Linked DNA regions of Homo sapiens: all the other regions are linked to region 2. The links are contacts of gene promoters, found by promoter capture Hi-C in human tissues and cell types (Jung and others, 2019). All regions are on one chromosome and are shown on one strand. The core of a region is centred on a gene start or on the middle of the fragment in contact, and the rest is flanking DNA. Distances in the headings are between cores, read along the strand shown. Region 1 overlaps NFIX (nuclear factor I X). Region 2 holds the start of DNASE2 (deoxyribonuclease 2, lysosomal). Region 3 overlaps NFIX (nuclear factor I X).

Region 1 (2,700 bases), core at 101-2,600, 180 kb after region 2:
GGCTGGGCTGGGCAGGCCTTGGGCCTAGCACTCCCAGAGTCTAGGGGGACAAGCTCTATCCTCCCTTTTCCCTGTTGGCCCTCTCTCCCCCACCCCTGTTTCTAGTATGGTGACTGTCTTGAGACCGTTGGATGGCTATTGCACACCGATGTGGGGAGGGATATGCCTGTACAGGTGTCTGCCCAGGCTCTGCCATTATATTTGCAGAGAAACCTCTCTGTTGCTCTTTGTAGATGGTAGTGGGCCAGGCCCCAAGGGAGCCCCTCTGTTCACTGGCAGTGGTCCCTGGGTCAAGACACCAAAAACTGCAATCTAGGACACACTCACCATGTACTCAAGAGCGTGAGCTCCTGGGGAGGGGAGCTGAGGGTCAGCCACAGCTTCCCCCACCAGGGTGGGAGGTGGCATTTGAACAGAGTTGAGAAGGAGGAATAAGCATTCAGCAAATGGAGATGAAGGGAAATAGTAATCCAGGTGGAAGGACAGGCGACATTTATGTAGCCCCAACTATGAGCCAGGCCCTGAGCTAAGCACCTTATTATACATGTTTTCTCATTTATTCCTTACCCAGGAATGCTAATGGTAGGTGTTATCTCCCTTTTACAGATGAGGAAACAGTTCATAACTTGACCAAAGTCACAGGCTGGTAGGTTCTGGAGCACGGATGTGAATTGGGGGAGCCTTGGTATGCCGTTGCTGGCCACCCACCTCCTTCCTCCTCCTACCCTCCATTTCAGCATGCCCCCTTCGGCCCCTCTGTGCTGGGGCAAGGCCAGCTCACCCAGGATAGGGTATCCACAGTGGTAGAGCACTGTGTTGTACCCCCTCAGTGGACACAGGCTCCAGACCAAGGGCACCTCCCTGGGTAGGCCAAGGGCAGGCTCAGAGGACAGGGGAAGCAGACCCAGGCCAATGGCTCCTGCCCAAGATGTTTTTCTTTGCCTTCTTCCTTGCCTGATCTTTGCCTGTCATCTTCAATCTCTTCTGCTCTGATGGGAATTCCTACCCCAGGTATCTCTGAAACACCCCAGACAGTGCTGCTGCCATGCCCTGGGTCCACTTGTTCCCTCCATAGTCAGGTATCTGAGGTGCTAGGTTTGGTGCTGGGTCACCTTGCCATGGGCAGACACAGGAGGAGCCTGCAGGCCCACTCGCATGTCCCATTGCTGCTGTGGCTGGGGGTCTCATTTATTAACTGTTGGGCTGATCCTGGAGTGGCCATTGGCAGGTGGGCCTTTGTCCACCTGCTGGGTGCTCTGTTGTGCACCAGGGGCATATCCCTTCTCTCTCTCCTTTGCTGGCCACTGCCTGTCATCCCTTGGGGAAGAGCAACTGAGCATTCAGTTCCCCAGTGCCTCCTGGCTTCTTCTGCCGCTCCATGCCTGGGCCCATCTAAAGGAGTTCTCCCTGGGCTGGGGACGGCTGCTAATGAACGGGAGCCAAGCAGAGAACGCTGAGTAGCTCACACCAGAAGAACTCCCTGGAGGGCTCCGGGGCCACTTGCTGGGGATGGAAGGGAGGTGGGAGTTCTATTGTTTTCCTGGAGGAAAATTTTAAGCTTAGGAACACCTTTCTCATTATATGAGGGAGGCAGTGATGGGCTGTGTGGCTGGAAGGCTTCTGGCTATGAGTCTATCTCCACATGGGGAGTGGAGGCAACCAAGGACTGTAGGAGACAGGCCTTCTTCACCTCGACACCGTGTGGGGCCTGAGGCTTTCAGATGAAGTGTGAGACTGCTCTGCTGGTCTCCTGGGTACAAGATGAGCTGATGGACTTGCTTTCTCCTCGCTTCCCGAAGCCTTACTGCCGAGCTGTGAGTCCTGTAGTAGCCAGGCCTGGCACTTGCTCCAGGGGCACCCGTAGAGGCCGGGATGTGTTGGAATGGAGAAAGTAGTTCTTCCTGGGGTCAGGGGATGGAGAGGGGAATGTCCCATCCAGATGCTGGCCCTTCATCTGCCAGGTTCCTGTGCCTTCCCTACCCCCCCGCCCCCAACAATGGCTTTTCTTGAGCCTAGGCCCTAGGGGCAGCCAGAGCAGGCCTAGACCACATGTGGGTGTCACTCGGTTTCTTCCTCTTTCCTGTCACTTATCCCCTCTGCCATGTCCTCTTCCCCCATCTCCAGCAGGTCAGTCAAGTCAAAGGCAGAAGCCCCTTTGGATCTGTGAGCAGGGAGGGAATGAGGAAAGGGGAGAGGACGATAATGGGGTGACATGTTCCCCTGTCCTTATCCCTGCCCCCACCCACAGCTTGCGGGCTCTGCTTCTTGTTCAGGCTCCGGCTTTAAACCATGTGAGACTCTAGGGATGACAGAGGAGGGAAAAACCTGCCACCTCAGGATGACTCCAGGATGTGTGTGTGCATGTGTGTGTGTGTTTGTGCACATGTGTGTGTGCACATGCATGGTGGCTGGTGGAGCAGGGTGAGGAATGGAGAGAAGGAGAGGAAGATCCTAGAAGCCCCGTGGGCCCAGACCCTGGCCAAGCCTCATCCCCCGGCCCTCTGGCTGCCCTGCATTCTCAAGGACTTCCTTGGTCCCCTGAGTCTCCTGTCTGCTGAGACGGGGAGAACCCCTCTGTGACCCGTCCCCTTAGCCCCCCATCTATCCACCGTTCCCCTCCTCAGGGTGTCTCAGATTCTCAGACTTCAGTTTCAGGAGGCACAATAGTTACATTCTCCAGCTCTGATTGCTACAGGCAGG
Region 2 (2,700 bases), core at 112-2,611:
GAGAGAGAGTGCCGCAAAAAAAAAAAAAAAAAAAAAAAGCCAGGCGTGGTGGGGGGTACCGGCAGGCCCAGTACTTGGGAGGCTGAGGTAGGAGGATCACCTGAGCCCTGGGAGGTCAAGGCTGCAGTGAGCTGTGATACTGCACTCCAGCCTAGGTGACTGGGTGAGACCTTGTCTAAAAGAAAATAAAATAGGGGAAATAGATGCCCAAGGTCTGACAGGGGAGATCTCCCACCCCACTATGGAGGTCAGGGGTTAGCTTGGAAAAATGCATAGGAACTCGGCTGGGCAGGGTGGCTCATTCCTGTAATCCCAGCACTTTGGGAGGCCAAGGCGGGTAGATCACTTGAGGTAGAAACCAGGAGTTCGAGACCAGCCTGGCCAACATGGTGAAACCTCGTCTGTACTAAAAATATGAAAATTAGCCTGGTGTGATGGTGCGCCTTTAATACCAGCTACTTGGGAGGCTGAGACAGGAGAATTGCTTCAACCCCAGAGGCAGAGATTGCAGTGAGCCAAGATTGTGCCACTGCACTCCAGCTTGGGTGACAGAGCGAACTCCCACCGTCTCAAAAACAAAGAAAAAAAAAAGTTGGGGGGAATAGATGCCCAGGGTCTGACAGTGCAGATCTCCCCGACCACCCCATGCACGTCAGGGGTTACCTTGGAAAAATGGGACCCGAGTCTCTCCCCAGCCCCCAATCCAGGCCTCACCCTTCGTGTGCCCACGCATGGAAGAGTCCTGAGCCTTGCTGGGTTGAGGCGGTTGGTCATTGTAGAGCAGGAAGGCGAGCTGCGGGCGGATAAACGGAGGCAACGTGAAATTCCTCCCAGGCAGGGCAGCCCTAGAGTTTCGCCCCTAGTTGGCCCGGGGCCCCCTTCACCTGGCTGGTGTTGCTCCGGTACAGCGGCTGCAGGCTTCGGCCCACGGCCCCCTCCGGGCTGTTGATGAGTGCCCTGCCGTCCCGCCAGCCTCCGGAGCTCTCGTCCAGATACTTGTACTGCAGCCCTCTCTGCGCCGCCTCCCCGGACCCTCTAAGAGCTGGCAGCTTGTAGACCACGAACCTGGAGGTCGGAGAATGCACAGAAATAGGAGAGAGGGAAGAGAAGGCACCCCAGGGTTCCCCGAGGAGGTAGCCATCCCGGTTGAGTGACCGCAGCCGGACCCCGGGGCGATGGTAGGCCCCCCGCTGCGCACTCACCAGTCTACAGGCTGCCCGGAGTCCCCGTAGCAGGTCAGGGCCCCGGCGGGGACGCACAGCAGCGCTGCCAGCAGCAGCGGGATCATAGCTGCTATGGGGCTGAGATCCAGGAATCTGTGTCGGGACTGCGGGGCGCTGGGTTACATCAGAGGCCAGGACTGGCACCTGGCGCCTTTCACTTCCCTAAACTTGCCTGGGAACCGGGGCGGGGACATCACGAGGGTACAGACTCCTCCCCCGAGACGCGATGCTGCGTTTTGGAGAGGCAAAAGGCAACGCTGAGTCTGCCCAGACCACGCCCACGACGGGCCCGGCGCTCCAGCGTCTCCTGGAGCCTGGCCACCGTTCCTTTTCGTGGTAGCTAATCCCAGCCCACGCTCTTCTGTCTGACCCAACTCCCGCCCGGGTTTCTGGATCAGGCACAAGTTTGTATTTTATTTTTTATTCCAGCCCTACAACCTGGGTCCAACTCTTGGGACCTTTGTTCTTCCTCTTTTTTTTTTTTTTTTTTTTTTTTTTTTTTTGAGACGGAGTTTCACTCTTGTCGCCCAGGCTGGAGTGCAATGGCACGATCTCGGTTCACTGCAACCTCCGCCTTCCTGATTAAAGCGATTATCCTGCCTCAGCCTCCCGAGTAGCTGGGATTACAGGCGCCCGACACCACGCCCGGCTAATTTTTGTAGTTTTAGTAGAGACGGGGTTTTTCCATGTTGACTAGGCTGGTCTCGAACTCCTGACCTCGTGATCCACCAGCCTCGGCCCCCGAAAGTGCCAAGATTGCAGAAGTGAGCCACTGCGCCCCTTAAGAAGCATTTGTGTTCCAGTGTATCTTCCCCTTTTTCTTTCTTTTTTTTTTTCCTTCCTTTTTTTTTTTTTTTTTTCCCGGACAATATCTCGCTCTGTTGCCCAGGCCGGAGTGCAGTGGCGCAATCTTGGCTCACTGCAACCTCTGCCTCCCCAGCTCAAGTGATCCTCTCACCTCAGCCTCCCGAGTAGCTGGGATCACGGGCACATGCCACTATGCCCAGCTAATTTTTGTAGTTTTTTTTTTGAAACACGGTTTCACCATGTGGCTCAGGCTGAACTCCTGAGCTCAAGGGATCCACCTGTCTTGCCTCCCAAAGTGCTGGGATTACAGGCATGTAATCCACGCCACCCAGACTCTCCTTTTTCATTCTGCACGTTTTCTCCAGGATCCCCTGAGCTAGCAAAGAGGTGACTGTATGTTTGTTTTTTGTCGTTTTGAGACAGGATAATGGTTTCTCACCCAGGCTAGAATGCAGTGACTCCATCACAGTTCACTGCAGCCTCAACCTACTGGGCTCAAGAGATCTTCCCAGGTAGCTGGTACTACAGGCCTGTGCCACCACACCCAGATAATTGTTCATTGCAGAGATGAGGGTCTCACTATGTTGCCCAGGCTGCTCTGGAACTCCGGGGTTCAAGTGATTCTCCCACCTCAGCCTCAAAGGATCATGGCAGGGCAAAGGGCTATGGG
Region 3 (2,700 bases), core at 118-2,617, 160 kb after region 2:
GGTATTGGTGTGGATCCTTCATCTGTTATTTAAAAAAGAATGGAAAAATCATCAAATACCTATCCCTTATTGCCTACCAAAGAGTTTCTAAAAGGCAAAGCCTGCCTGTTTTCCCTGCCTTTCAGGTCACCTCTTCCCATATAGACCTGAACAGGCCACTGCGGCTCCTGGGGCTTCCTGAGCGTAGCAGTCCCAGGGTGAGAACTCACTTCCATAAAAGCCAGTTTCCCAGACCCAGTGACCAGGGCTGGACTCTGCCACCCAAAGAAGCTTCCCAAATGAAACAAATGAGGCAGGAGCAGGAGAGAGCCAAATCCTATTCTGGCACATGGAGTTTACAGAAATCTAGGTTCTAAGTGTTCTCATGTCATTTATAGAAGTTTCCGTTTAGCCCGGCATATGTGAAATGTAATCATGAAAGCATAGCAGACACTGTTTTTCACCTGCCTTTAGTGCCTGTTTAGTTTACTACCTGGCTGCAGTTGACTTGGCGCCCTCTGGCCTTGACCACATGCATAGCGTGGCCAACTGGGTCATCGTTTCTGCTGGCCTCGGACAGGGCCCACAGATGAAGGCCAGGATGGTGGTGGTGGCGCAGTGGTCTGGTCTGCACCAGAGATTTGGCCAGAGAGAGGGGATCAGCTGGGCTGTGGGCTACCCGTTGTGTGTGTCAGGCCCAACTTTTGAGTTTGGACTTGAGATTGAGGCAGCTAATAAGCGTGGATGGGGAGGAAGGGCCCAAGGGTCTACATGCAAGGTCCTGCCTGCTGTGCCAAAGGGGACTCTGTGGGGAACAGTGCTGGCTCCGAACACAAAGGCCATTGCTCCATGGAGCAATAATCCTCAGGATATTGCCAGCCCAAAAGATATGGCCAAGAGAGAGGCCTCTGCCCTGAGGACAATGGCCAGATTTCTCTCACTTATTTATGGTATCGTGGTTTACAAAGTGGGCCCAGCACACAAATCTCTGGGCATAGTTTCAAATACATGCATTTCTTTTAAATTAAACACCCCCCCCCACACACACACATACACGTGTGTGTGTGTGTGTAGGGTCTGTTCAAGCCCTGCTGCTGCCCAGGAGTGTTCCCAGCCACGTGGGACAGTAACTGAGGATGATGGTACTGAAGCCACTGTCTAATATTAGATTTTGTAACTCAGAGATTCATTAATATAATTACTCAGATGCCAGCCTGGCTTGGCAAGGCCTCTTGAATTGTGTTCCTCTTCAACAAAGTGCTCCGGCTGCAGAAATGCCCCTGGTGAGCCTGAGCTCTGCTACCTTGCCTGTGAATGGGGCAGAAGGCATGTGTTGGCCTCCTCACTGCACCCTGGGAGAGGCAGTGCATCCCCATGGTGGCAAGTCTTGCCTTTACATGTCTTGTCACGAAAACAGGGACCTTGGAGAGTCTGCTGCAGAGGGGAGCAATCTGCTGGGCGAGGCCCCGTTTCTATGCAAGTTGGCCCTGGGCTCAGCTGGGGGCCAGTTTATTTTGCTCCGTTGTGATACTTAGCATGCAGTTTTTAGTTTCTCTTAGGCTGGAATCTTGGAGCTGGGACTGTGTTTTATCCGCCTTTGCATCTGTCTCTCGCGCAGCTTATAGTTTTATACGCTCCATAAACCCATTTTGAATATTGAATTACCTTCAGATGGGAAGCAGCCCATGGCCCATCCTTGAGATGATGTAAAGGCTCACGATGGTATAAAAATCAGAAAGGGGGCTGATGAAGGAAGAGAGCCAAGATGGGAAAGTGGCAGGTGTGCTCTCTGAGTGGGCATTATGAGGGGAGAATCCTGACAGAGGAGGGGCAGTGGAAGCTTCCAGAATGCTGGAAGGAGTGTGGCAGGCAAGTGAGAAGCTGTGGGTTAATGGGTTCAAAGAGACTTGGTTTTTCAAAATACTTGTTTTTATTTTATGTGAATGAGCTCTCAGGAAAATGGGGAAGGAGCAGCCTTCTTCTCAGCCCCTTCCTTCACCCCTGCCCCCGCTGAGTACCTTGTTACAGGGGCTACTGCTTGGTGGGCTCAGCCCACCCCACCCTCTCATAGGCCTTTTCTTGGTCTCCTTGGCTGTCCCTGCTAAATAGTCATCTTTGGGGACATCCTCCCTTTTGGCCACAAAGCACACAGCCCCCCAGAGGCCATGTCCTCTCCAGACTTGGTCTGCGGAGCAGCCAAACTCACTCGTGACAGGGTCTCTTCCCGTGCCAGATCTTCCCTGCCACGCTAGCCTGGTGGATGCCCTGCGGCAGGGATTGGCAGGGATCAGTCCTGGGCCCACTGGGATTGCTTGCCTTTTGCTCTGAGGCTTTTCCTCGCCTCCCTCCCTCTCCTCAGGAGCCCTGGCCTCCAGGCTCCTTGTATGGACAGACTCATGGCTGCTATTCCTGCCCTCCATCTCCTGGAGACCCCTTCAGTCTGGGCCTCTCGGGTCAGAGATGACTGCCGTCCTCCAGCTGGTACATGTGCTTGCGGCTCTGGTAGCTGGGTTTGGTTATTAACAATGAATTATTAAAGGAATGTGAATAGGGAGGGAGGTTTGTCTTTCACACACTCGCGCACACACACAGCCACTTCTCGAAGCAGATCTTAAAGTTGATTCTGCTGCCGCTGCTGTACCTTTGCTTGCCTCGGATCTTAGAACTGTTTCCAGTAGTTTTTGAGTGAATTCCGAGCACTCCACTTTCTACCTTAAGACT

What was found. Contacts are between HindIII fragments. The study calls those that stand out against the background at their distance.
Region 1: a fragment that was not itself captured here is called in contact with the fragment with the promoter of DNASE2 in region 2 in 1 of the 25 tissues and cell types used here (lymphoblastoid cells).
Region 3: a fragment that was not itself captured here is called in contact with the fragment with the promoter of DNASE2 in region 2 in 3 of the 25 tissues and cell types used here (dorsolateral prefrontal cortex, lymphoblastoid cells and spleen).

Annotation. Positions count from the first base shown.
Region 1 is chr19:13,064,374-13,067,073 of GRCh38, forward strand. All of the region lies in intron 2 of NFIX (nuclear factor I X), which reads left to right. Among named protein-coding and RNA genes, the nearest start is that of LYL1, 37 kb to the right of the region's middle. The HindIII fragment of the contact is 5,516 bases long and covers 1-2,700 here.
Region 2 is chr19:12,880,088-12,882,787 of GRCh38, forward strand. It overlaps DNASE2 (deoxyribonuclease 2, lysosomal), which reads right to left and starts at 1,362. Exons shown (of 6, transcript NM_001375.3): 1 at 1,203-1,362; 2 at 885-1,065; 3 at 715-793. The coding sequence starts at 1,288. RefSeq lists enhancers at 893-1,520, 1,180-1,289 and cis regulatory regions at 1,184-1,744, 2,484-2,700. The HindIII fragment of the contact is 10,490 bases long and covers 228-2,700 here.
Region 3 is chr19:13,038,211-13,040,910 of GRCh38, forward strand. The region is part of intron 2 of NFIX (nuclear factor I X); the gene reads left to right. Among named protein-coding and RNA genes, the nearest start is that of NFIX-AS1, 24 kb to the left of the region's middle. The HindIII fragment of the contact is 3,683 bases long and covers 1-2,700 here.